2 separate regions of the Homo sapiens genome follow, and region 1 is linked to region 2. The links are contacts of gene promoters, found by promoter capture Hi-C in blood cells and fetal thymus (Javierre and others, 2016). All regions are on one chromosome and are shown on one strand. The core of a region is centred on a gene start or on the middle of the fragment in contact, and the rest is flanking DNA. Distances in the headings are between cores, read along the strand shown.

Region 1 (6,851 bases), core at 3,173-5,672, 320 kb after region 2:
TCCCAATCCAGCCATAATCTAATCCCTGGCTGCTGATCCTGGGCAGCCATTGTCCAGTGCTGGTCAGGGAGGTGGAAGAACTGAAAAAAACACAAATGATGCAGTATAAATAGATCCGCCCCTTCTATTGGGGAAATTAGAGCTACTATGTAGATTTATTTGTGGATTAGCATAGCAAAAAAAACTTATTAGTGAGAAATGGCCCTCTGAATTTCATGTTGTAAAGCCCTTTGCCAAAGTTTTTGACATTTTAGCCCACATTATTTAAACAGTGTGTGTGTGTGTGTGTGTGTGTGTGTGAGAGAGAGAGAGAGAGAGAGGAGAGAGATAATGCATTTGTAGCAAATACCCCTGTATCAGGACAGGCCCAGTTGGCCCTGCCCATATATTTTAACTATTTGGGCCATTGAAAGATAGCTTTCAGATTTGTATTTTTTACTGGATACCCCCAAATCATGGAAATGGCATAGTTCCTCTGATTGTTTTTGAAACATAACTACACAATGAGCTTCAGGGAAGTACATGTGAGGCACACAGACCCTAAGAACCTTGTCATAGGCTTCTGTTCTTTAGTTGCAGTTAGAGGCAACTTCACATTTGTTTTACTCTGAGCCATCATTCAAAAGGCTGATTATTCTAAATTTAAGTAAATGAATGTTTACTTTTCATTAGGGTAGATCTGTTTTTCACATGTCAGCCATAATAGGAGTGAGACAGAACAAATAAACTTTGAAACATTTTATTTGGAAACTTTTCAACAAGAATATTAAAAATAGGTTAGCATTAGCTAAATGTCTCGACCTATATTTGTTAAATAAATAGAATTTCACATAAACTGAGAATATAGTGATTTACTCTAAATCTTGTTTATCTGCTGGTGCTTTTCATTCTTGACAGAAGAACAACACTTGTTAACATGGTGTACAACTTTTTTTTTTAACTTTAATGTAAGTAGTATTCCGAAGGTCACCGTTAACACCTGAATGTTTTGTGGAGGTTAAACCAAAAGCTGTAGAATCATTCTGTCAAGCTCTAAGGTTTAAAATACCTAATGAATCTATTATGGCAGGAATTTTTTCTATAATAAATTAGTACTTTAATGTTTTCTTTTTCTCATTTAATTTTGGATCTTGTTCAGTGTTTACTGCCTGTATCATTTTTTGTTTGCATTATCACTCTTGTATGTGTCTAATTTGCTTGAATATTGCAGTTCATTTTTTAATTAAAAGAAACTCCACATATTTTCCATATTAAAGCCATAATAAGTACCAACACAGCCTAATTGGTATTTATATTAAATCTGGGTGGAATTTCTAAGAACTTGCTGCTAATGTTGTTTTTAATTTTAACAGCCTCAAGTACTACAGCCTTCCAGCAGCCTTCCCAGACCCACAGATCACACCCAGGGAAAACTAATAAAGCCACAACGTATCGAGGCCCGCAGTGAATGCTCAATCCAAGACATGCATCAGGGCGGTGCACATCCGGAAGAAAGCTTTACACACGTCTTGCACCAAGAAAGCAACTATGGTTTGGAAGAGCAGCCTTTTTCATCAGGCCCACAATTAACAATGGATGTGGCTAAGAGTACACCTTCTGAAGCAAACTTAAACATTACTGTAAATGCTCAAGAGCCTTATCATTTGGCAAACAATCAAATTAGTGACATGCAGTTTATACCCACTTCTCTTCAGACACCTCCCGAGTCAAGTACAGTAGACCAGGCTAAGAGAGTTGGAAGAAATCAGTCTCCGCCAGTGGGTTATATGTCTCAGCCCAAGTCCTTGCAGCTTTTAAAGCCATCCATATTGAGTTCTTTGGTACCGCCTCCAGTTTCTGAATCATCTCCAAGTAGGACTCCCACTTGTAAAAAGTCACCAATAATCACAACATGTAATTCAGCAAAACTTCAGCCAACATCTAGTCAAACAAATCTTGCAAATAATCAGAATCTGAAAGCATCTAAGCTCCGCCCCCCCTCAGGCTCTTTCAAACAAAAACAAACAAACAGCCCCCAACTAGAGCCTCAAAGCTTCCAGGCCAAGACAAGCATCCCAAGGCCACTAACACAACGAAAAGAAATCATGCAGAATCCAAATGGCAATTTGCATTCTGGGGATTGTTTGGCCTCTAATCGATATTCTCGTCTTCCTAAACCAAAGATACATTAAGTACATAGCCATCACCTGCCAATTTGTTTCTTAAAAACAATCTCTTCTGTAATAGCTTTATGTGCAGCTTGCAGCTTGCTACTGTGGTGGAGGTTCCATTGAAAGCCTGCAAATCTTAAATTAAAATGTGGAAGCTTCTACTAGTTTGGCTCCTTCATTTTATATCCTGGTTGAAGTACATGCCATTTGAGCATAATTATCTCAGGTAAACACGAAAGTTTGCTTACCCATTTCAGAGGCCTGCCAAAGGCCCAAATCATGTTATCCATCCCTCTCCACGTCAGAAAATTCATAATATTTTACTGAGCAGGCAAGAAGTGTGCTTTGCTGGTTTAGTCCTATTAAGGTCTGTATTTATTGTGGTTGTCAGAACCTCACCCCTTTTCACTTGTCTCTCCTGTGAATATGGCTACTATTTTAACTAAAGATATGGTGATAATGGAAGATGGTAGTCTGTAAGCAGAGTTCTGGCCAGTGTTTTGTATATTTAAAAGGTCTATGCAAAAGCTTTGTGATGAATAAAGGAGATTAGGCTTTTAATGGAAAGTCTATGTAAGTTTTATTTTTCCTTGCCAGGGTCAGTCAGCTAATGTTACTGTTGATTCATTTCCCAAATTCCCCAGACTGAAAGTGTTTCTTATTACATATAAATCAGTTATATATTCCTTTACATCTTGTTTTACAAACACATGTGCATGCACACACACATATACACACACATACCATTTATGTTTGTATTTGTTACTGGGTAAATTTTGGAGCGCTTGAGATACACCTTGAAACCTGTACCTAAAGATGTATTCATTTGTAACATATGTTGGTGCTAGAGTTTTGCTGGTAATTCAGGCTTGAACCCTTAGGCTTGTGGATCCATGATAGCCATTTTAAGGTTCCACAGCATTATGTCTTTAATTGTAATATTTATATTTATTGATTTTCTGCTAATATCTGAAGACTGAAATAATGAACTTGAAACATTTGCACAAAACTTTGATGGGGTATAAATATACCATATATAGGGATTGTAAACTATTTTCTATAGCAAAACAAGTTAAAATATTTTGAGAAAAATAACAAATTTAAATAAGACTATCTTGAGAAAGCTGGAGTTCATAATATTCTCCCCCTCCCCCATCTCCAGTCTCCTAGGTTTCCCTTTTCTGTGTTTTTTGTTTTTTTCTGTTTGTTTTTTGAGACAGAGTCTTGCTCCATTGCCCAGGCTGGATTACAGTGGCGCAATCTCGGCTCACTGCAACTTCTGCCTCCCGGGTTCAAGCGATTCTCCTGCCTCAGCCTCCTGAGTAGCTGGGACTACAGGCATGTGCCACCATGCCTGGCTAATTTTTTTGTATTTTTAGTAGAGATGAGATTTCACCTTGTTGGTCAGGCTGGTCTCGAACTCCTGACCTCAAGTGATCCACCCACCTCGTCTATGGTGTATTTTTGAAAGACAATTTTTTAAAGGTAGATTTGGGAAAAAAATAGAATTGAAGATGGGAAATTTTGTTTTATTAAAAAGGTGCTAGAAGATGTTTCAAAGACAATATTCTTATTTTAATACGCTGTAGAAGGTAGGTGTGGAACCTCCATGCTACCATGTGCACAAACCTAATTATGCTTTGGGTCACTTGTCAGTTCAGTAAATCTGCCTTCCTCTTCTCCCAAATCATGTCATCTTTAGGTTGTTCACCTGCAGCTGCTTTAAATGAATTAGTATCTTTCAGATAGATAACCTTACAAGGAGAATGTTTGTTTTGAGCAGCTGACCAAAAATATATCAAACAGGATTATGGCCAAAAAGTCACTCAAATTTCTAGAGATTCCTTTAAAAGATGTATGTTGATGAAATTGCCCCTTTATAAGAAAAACAACAGCAAGTCTTTTAGTAGAAATTTGAAAGAAGTGTTTGCTACCATTTTGACCCATTATTCCCTTACCTATCAGATGAATTTGCCATTCACTGGATAGAAACCATTCTTGGATTTGGTAAGAGGTGAGCAAGACAAATCTTGTACCATACTCTTATGTACCAGCACTTCTGATGGAGAAGCAGTGAAGTTCAGAACGTTCTTCACATAGTCCAGATACTGTTAGAGTCAGGCAAATCAGCAAAGCACTTTGTTATGGAGATGACCCATGATGGCTGCAGTTGTAAGTGGGCATACATGTTCTATCATTTTGAAGGAGAAAGAAAACCGTTCTCACATGTTGCAAATATGTGAATCATACTATATTCCCCTAAAGTAAAACCAGTGACTTAGTGGTTTTTGGTTTATTTAGAAGTTGGTTTAGACCCTTATGAAACATTATTTACGAGTTGGCCTTATCCTTAAGGGAAAAGTTCTAAATTTTTAAATTTATTTTTAATTCCCTAGTCTGAGGGAAATGTCTTTATTGTCCATTACATAAAAATGTTGACTCCAGTAATTTATTTTTCTCTATTTTTTCCTCCATGTATTTACTCCATTTTTCTCTATTTTTTCCTTCCCTGATGGATTTGCAGAAATGTTAACCAATTAGCTCAACTTTTCTCTACCTTTGTTGAGTCTTAATCTTTTAGAAGATAGGCTTATCGTATATTTATGAAGCATAATATATTAAAAGAAAACAAATCTAGGATGCTTGCATGACATAAAGTATTTGCCTGCAGTTTTCATTAAAAACTGCAAGAATATCATGCTTGTCTGCTTCTTAGTAAATGTTAAGTCTGAAATGGAAGTGAGGATGTAACTCTACTGAATAATCAAAGATCATCTTAGATTTGGCTTGATCTGTGTTTATTGCTTCTATTAATGTAAATCAACTCTGTGCCAAATCCTCCTCCACAAACCATTTATTGTCTTAGTTCTAGTGGTATCAATGAAGATAGTTACAGTATATGAATTCTAAGTCCTGAGGAAGAAATTTTATGGGGTTTGTTAAGTTTCACATTCGTGAAAGAGGAAATTAGTAGAGTATTCAGACTTTGATATTTGGCTGTTAATGGGATGCATATCAAATTTTTAAAAGAAGGCTTGGCCTAAGGAGTTTATTGGTACAGGTGCAGATGATTTTAAGGCATTAAAGGATTATAGAGTTATGTCATTTAGACTGTTTCTAATAACTGAGACCATCTAACATTTTTCTTTTGGAGTCTCATTTTTATTTGTGCAATATTTTCAGGCATATAGGCTACTGTTCATTGTATTTATATATATATTAGAATTTACTAAGTACTTTAACAAGTAAAAATCTGAATATGAAAGAAAATATCAGATTTGCACTTTAAATGAGCTTAATTGCTTGAAGTTGTGCCTGAAATATCGAATTGCCTCCTATTGGGTGTGGCTTTGTTGAAATAAATTTGTAATTGTTGCTGTTTGAAGATATCAGTACAGCTGTTCACAGAAATATATTCCCAGCATGTCACTTTTCCATTAAAGCACTAAGTTTTCTTTGAATGTTCCATTGTTCCGATAAGTATTTTACTTTTTTCTCAGTACATCAGAGAGAGCGTGATCCCCCTACAGCTGTCACTTCCAAATGTTCCTGTAGCATAAATGGTGTTACAGACACTGAGGTGCACTCTTGGTTTCTGAGCAGAGTTGTCATACTGGTTTCCTGGTCTCTAGGGCACTGGGGATGTACTTTGAAATCACCGAACAGGCTTGCAATTAAGATCAATAAGGCTGCAGCACCATTTCAATTTACTTTCCATCTTACCCAGTAGTTTTTGTGTTTTTAAATTCGTTTGGGTGGTTATGTTTGCATGCTTAAGCACACATTTGAAAATTAATTATAGCTGTACTACCCGATGTTTTTCCTTGGGGATGATGGCCTTGTTCCTTTTTAAATTCTGATGCTTGAATTCTATTTTCTAGTGATTTTTCACATCTCCCTTTAAGTTTTTGCTGCAGCAATTTGAGAGAGTACTTTTGATTAAATGATTCTGATGGTGGGCACCAATCTACAACTATGTCATTAACTGAAGATACATGTTTTAATCTTGTTGGGAATAAGCTTACCCACTTTCTCCTTGGTAAAGCGTTTACTTAACAAAATAATACCCGAGAATGTAAGGTCTCTAAGTCATTACTAACAAAGAGCAAAAATAATATCTGCAGTATTGTTTTTCCCATTGATTTTAAGTCAGTTTAGAGTACAAACTGTATATTAGAATTTGCCTGTAAAATGAATTCTAAAAAGCAGATGTAAAGTCTCTCCTGAAAATGTTGGCATAGTAAATAAAAATAAAGTTCATAATTATAAAAGTTCTCTTGTCTTTCTCAACATTGACTCCCATAGTTTGCTTTTTCTTTGATATCTTTTTTCCCACAAAGATCTAAGATACTGTTCATTTGCTTATGTTTTTCCCAACTCTGATACTTTATTTTACATGCTGCCTTCACACACATCTTGACACCCCAAGCCCTGATTGAGTAGGAGTTGATCAGTATTTTGTTGTTGTGTCTTCACAAATTCTGTAAGAGATCTAGTACTTTCGTTTCCATTGTAATAAAATACCTGCTTTATCTTAGAATATTGGGATAATGGTTAATGGACATTTCAAGAAACATTAGCACCTTGGATTTAGAATGCTGTACAAGGAAGAAAACACTTGTAATTTTAATTATTTTGTCATTGTTTTTAAGCAGTATACAAAATAGCTTGAGGCAAGAAAGGTGTTTAGTGAAATTTTAC
Region 2 (5,290 bases), core at 665-3,164:
TGCTGGGCATGGTGGCGTGCACCTGTAATGCCAATATTTGAAAGGCTGAGGCAGGAGAATCACTTGAACCTAGGAGACAGAGGTTGCAGTGAGCTGAGATCCGCCATTGCACTCCAGCCTGGGTGACCGAGTGAGACTCCAGCTCAAAAAAAAAAAGAGTTTGAACCTTCTTTGGAGCCAACCCAAACTGTATGTGAATCCAAGCTCTGCACCTCAGAGAGAATAAGTCACTTGCTTGGTCGTACACAGCCAATGAGGAAATCTCCCTCCTCTGCAAAGCAGAGAAAATCACATTGGGAGAGCAGTGCAGGTCAAATAAGATAATATGGGCAAATATACATAAGCACACATACAGCACATGGCATGTAGGCTACTCCTTCCCCTTCCCTCTCCAGTGCATGGCTGTTGACTGAGGGAACTGAGGAGAGAGAAATCAACGGCCCTAGATTGGTGAGGAGCAGGGCTAACAGGACCCAGGGAGAGCTGGCTTTTCTCGGCCCACCAAGACATCTACTCCAGGAAACCTTGGCTCTGCCTCTGGCTCCTGGGAAATCCACGGCAAGACTCAGTCTCCACATCCCTATATGGGACTTGCAGAATACTTGCCTTAGCTTTGTCCCAGCACTTTGGGAGGCAGATTCAGAACATCTGTGCAATTTAAAGTGTGTCTTTTCAGCAAAAGAGCCAAGCCTAAGGAGACTCAACAAGGGTTTCGGCCAATTAGGCCTGAAAACTGCTGCACATTCTAAAACCATTGATTCATCTTCCTTCTTCTCTGCAAATCCCTGACCCTTGCTCACAGTAGATCATGTAGGGCTAGACCAAGGGATGGGGGGTGCTCTGTTCCCTCAAAGGCCCCTGGCAGGGGGAGGGGGGGAATGCTGAGTCCTCAGCTGTGGAGACCTCTCCCAGGAGCACACAGAGGAGGGATCTCCTCTATCTGAGAACACATCCACCCAAGGGCATCCTGGGAAGTGGCCTGGCTTGGGCTTGAAGTGACCTGTACCCCCATAAATGGCCCAACCAGGAAAAGGAAAACAGGCTGCATTTCCAAGCACCCTCCAGTGTCAGAGCAGGAGAACGAGGAAGCCCAAGGAGCTTTACCAGCAGCCAAAAAGGTTCCTGGGCTTACCTGTGTCTTCAAGTTATCAGCATCCAGGACCCCAATAGCAGTGCCTTGCTTTGTGTAAATACCCTCTAGGAATGAGATCTCGTGCCTCTCGGGCAGTTCAGATCTATCTTGGCCAGCTCTGTGCAAGTCTGTCCTAAGATGGGGCTTAACTCTGCCTTCAGGCCCTTCACTCTTCCTTGGAAGGTTTGAAGAGTGGGTCAGCTGCCCCTTCATGGTCCCAGACTGGGCACTGACTGGGAATGGGGAGCAGAACTGCCTCTCACCCTGGTGGACACCTGAGGGTCCTCCCTGCTGCCCACCACACAGATCAGACCCTTTGGGAGAGGTGGTCCAGCCTGGGGAACAGGGCAGGAATGGGTTGAGATCACAGAGAGGGGGTCCTGATAACCCCTTACCATCTGCTGCCCATCCATCACCCTTTCTCTTTGCCTTTGGTCTCACGCGGCTTATAGAACCTGCTTAGACTGCTAAGGCAAGGCCCTCTCGGCCGCTCCACTAACTTTTCTTCTGGAATGCTTAGCTCAGAGAAGACAGCTAAGCCCCTGAAAGTCACAGAGGAAGTTGATGAGAAAAGAAAACTGCGAAGCCCAAGCCCCACCAGGACTTAAGTACCCTGGGAAAGCCTCAGGACAACTTGGGGGAAAGACACTCCTGTCCCCCATGGTGTCCTCCTGTCCAGGACTGGGGGCCGCCGGCAAAGGGGGCGTGGCGGGCGGGGAGTCCTCTTGTCACGCCCTCCTGCCCCCGCCCGCGGCTGGGAGCCTGTCGCTCCGCTCTGCGCCGCTAATTGGTCTCGTCAGGCGGCCGGCAGGAGCAGATCCGAGCCGTGTCATCCTCTTAGCGCCCTCACGCCACCCGCCGCTCCCGCCCCGTGCCCCCTCCCGCCGCGGCTGCAGTCGCCGCTACCCCCATTGTGGTCTCTGCCCTCCCCGCGGGCCCAGGGCATGCTCCGTGCCCCTGCGCCCGGTCTCGGCGGCGGCAGGCGACACTCCGCGCCGGCGGAGACATGAGGCGCTGCCGGTGGGCCGCCCTGGCCCTGGGGCTGCTGCGCCTCTGCTTGGGTGAGTGGCCGCTGGGCCGCGCTGGCCGCGTGGATGGCGAGGGAGATGGGCGCTGGCGTCACCCAGGTGGCCAGAGGGACATGGTCCTGGACCACTTCCAGAGTGGGACTCGGGCTGGTGGACGGGAGCGGAGAAGTCCTTCCATCTTCCTGGCCCATTCGGTAGTGGGGAGTGGGGTAGCGGAGTAGTGGGGAGCTCCGGGGCGCTTCTCCAGAGCTGGCATCCTAGGGCCCCAGGGTTTGGCGCCCGGACCCCCGCTGCTCTCCGCTTGCTGGGAACCAGAGCTGTAGGCTTGGTGGCAGCTCCGATGCTGCGTGGGGCAGGAGATAGTGCCCTGACTCGCGGCTTGACCTTGGCTGGGCTGGGGCACTGCCCCTCTCCGAGCGCGGGTGCAATCTGCCCATTGATGAAGGAGGGGTTGGATTGCTACCTGGGTTCTAAGCGCCCACATGCTACGTGTCCCTGACAAGCCCGAGCCCACCGGGGGCGGAGTGGGGGTCAGGGGCATCCTCTGGGCGGCGCCCCAGTGGGGTCCCTCGGTGCACTTGGGTTGGGGAGGCGGAGCGCCCTCCTGCCCAGTAGCTGGGCCTGACGCGGGACCGCGCTGGTGCGAAGCTCCCTCCTGGTGTCTGGGTGTCCTTTGCCTGGGTGTCCGTCTGTTCTGTGTTCTTTTTCCAGCTCAGGCCAACTTCGCCCCGCACTTCTTCGACAACGGGGTCGGCAGCACCAACGGAAACATGGCTCTGTTCAGCCTCCCAGAGGACACCCCTGTAGGTGAGTAGCCCTGGCACCTGCTCCCGATAGGTCTCCCTGAGGGGTGCAGGCAGACTTAGAACACAAAGTGCCCCAGGCACCACCCAAGTTGCTGCGCGCGCCCGGGGGCTCCTTGTTTGCTCTCCGAATTCCCCTGGGCAATGGCAGGAAAGAAGGTCATTGCTGCCATGGCGACTTAAGTCTGGCCAGTCCTGGAGACCAGGGCTCCCCCCCACAGACAGGGTCGCCCCGCGAGGCAGGCAGCTACAGCTGCCCCTTATGGCTGTGTGACCTTGAACAAATGTATTTACCTCCCTGAGCCCCAGGTCTCTAGGCTTTAAAACGGCCTAAGAACATCCAACTTGCTGAGATATGCAGAGAGAGGGGAGGAGAAAGGGGAGATTTCACACTCCTTCTCCCTCACTTTGTGGGTAGTGGGAACCCGGGGAAAAGGGAGAGCAGAGCAAAGTAGGCACCTGGCTCAGAAATCCCTGCAGAACCAGGTCCAGGCATCGGGGACAGTGGTGCACTGTGGGTCACCCCTCCTGCCTTAATGGCTGCTCCCATTTCCCCTTCCCTGTACCCAGGAGCCCCTCAATCTTGGATCCTGAGAGAGGAGTTATTACCAGGCTGAGCAGAACATAGGCACTACAGTTAGGCACGGCAGACCTGCACCTGCTCTGTAACCCGTGTTATAGATTACAATCTGGAAAGTGGCTGATCATCACAACCACCCGCTGTGAAGAATAAACATACAAAGAGGGAAGCAGCCAGCAGGGGTGAGGCCAGCAATGAGCACCAAGTTCAGGGCAGTACCTTTGGCACTGAGTTGAATAGTCACTTTATAAACAGCTGAATCGTTGGTCCTGAGCATCTGCCACTTTTAGGAAAAGTTGGGTCTCAGATTCTATGTCTCTCCACTGTGTTTCCTTCCAGGCTCTCACGTATACACCCTGAATGGGACAGACCCTGAGGGAGACCCCATCTCCTACCACATCAGCTTTGACCCCAGCACTAGAAGCGTCTTTTCTGTTGACCCCACTTTTGGAAACATCACCCTGGTTGAAGAGCTGGACAGAGAGGTATGGGGAGGTGTGGGGAGTGCTGCGGGGCCACTGCCTGTAGACAGACCTCGGTGGGCTGAAGTTCCCCTGGAGCACATTGGTTAGAACCTCTCCACAGAGTAGGGGATGAGGGGGCACACCCCAGGCACATCCACTCTGTGAGATCTCTGGGCCACTTCCCATCAGCAGAGTGGGCTTTACTTTCATGCTCCTCCTTCACACAGAGCGAAGAGTGGGCTCCTTTAACGAGCACCTGCCAGCCCTGCTAATCTTTTAAGCATGTTCCATTAAAAATAAATCCGTTTGCACTTTGAGGTTTCTGAAAGAAACCTCACAAAGTGATTTTTCAAGCCTGTCCTGGGAGAGGCACAGGAACTCAGAGCAGGTCAAGGCTGGAAAGGGTGGTTGGCAGTGAGTCTGAGTTTGGCAGAGCTCCTCCACTCTACACACTTGAGAACTTGCAGGCAACAGGGCATGGGCTTTTTCAGACCGCATAGCAGCCTGGTGTGTGGCTAACTGGACCTCAGCTGTGGGGATGCTGCCAGCTCGTGACAGCCTCCACTAGCTGCAGGACAGGGTAGAGAAAGGAAAGGGAGGTCTCAGGGACTGCTGTGGGGACACAGCAGTGGAGCCTGACTGTGCTGCCAGTACCCCACTCCCTGGCACCCGCGGGATCTGGCAACATCCGATACCCTTCCCCATTGAGGTCTCACCATATCCTGGGAGCACTGAGACACCATGGATGTGAGCCTCTGCAGAGCCCTGGAATGTGGAGAGGTGTGGAGAGAAAAGGGGAGAAAAGGGAAAAGAAAGAGGAAAAGTCTTTATGGGACCTTGAGCACACTAAGGTCGACATCTCGCCTCACTGTGGCAGGAGAGTATTTTCTGTTGGAGCCCCAACAGACCCTCTGGGTCTCTGAGTTTATAAGAACCCCGGACACAAAAGTCCCAAAATAAGGTCTCAAGCATGGGGGGAGGCAGCTTTCTACTCTGCCAGGCATGCTGTCACCACCACTTACCCTGCTCCAGGGATCTATTGGCACGCCCAGACCTCCTCTGATGGGTGCGTGGGGCAGGGAGAGCTCCATCCAGCCACAGGGGTCCTATGGCGTGTCAGACTCCTGGACACTCACTCAGTCCCTGTGCTTCACAGAGGGAAGATGAGATTGAAGCCATCATCAGCATTTCTGATGGCCTGAATCTGGTGAGTGCACGTCCAAGGCAGTCCCTGGCAGCCTGCAGTATTTGGGCCTGAGAAGGGTGAGGCTGGCACGATTCCT

Evidence for each region. Contacts are between HindIII fragments. The CHiCAGO score rates a contact against its expected background, and 5 or more counts as called.
Region 1: a fragment that was not itself captured here is called in contact with the fragment with the promoter of CDHR1 in region 2 in 1 of 17 cell types (neutrophils); the score reaches 6.1 in neutrophils.

The regions. Positions count from the first base shown.
Region 1 is chr10:84,512,097-84,518,947 of GRCh38, forward strand. CCSER2 (coiled-coil serine rich protein 2) reads left to right here. Exons shown (of 10, transcript NM_001284240.2): 10 at 1,353-6,421. The coding sequence ends at 2,171. Among named protein-coding and RNA genes, the nearest start is that of CCSER2, 190 kb to the left of the region's middle. RefSeq lists a silencer at 383-583 and an enhancer at 2,317-2,486. The HindIII fragment of the contact is 3,492 bases long and covers 2,677-6,168 here.
Region 2 is chr10:84,192,623-84,197,912 of GRCh38, forward strand. CDHR1 (cadherin related family member 1) reads left to right here and starts at 1,915. Exons shown (of 17, transcript NM_033100.4): 1 at 1,915-2,193; 2 at 2,872-2,967; 3 at 3,883-4,028; 4 at 5,164-5,214. The coding sequence starts at 2,139. RefSeq lists silencers at 1,811-1,940, 2,011-2,130. The HindIII fragment of the contact is 5,936 bases long and covers 1-5,290 here.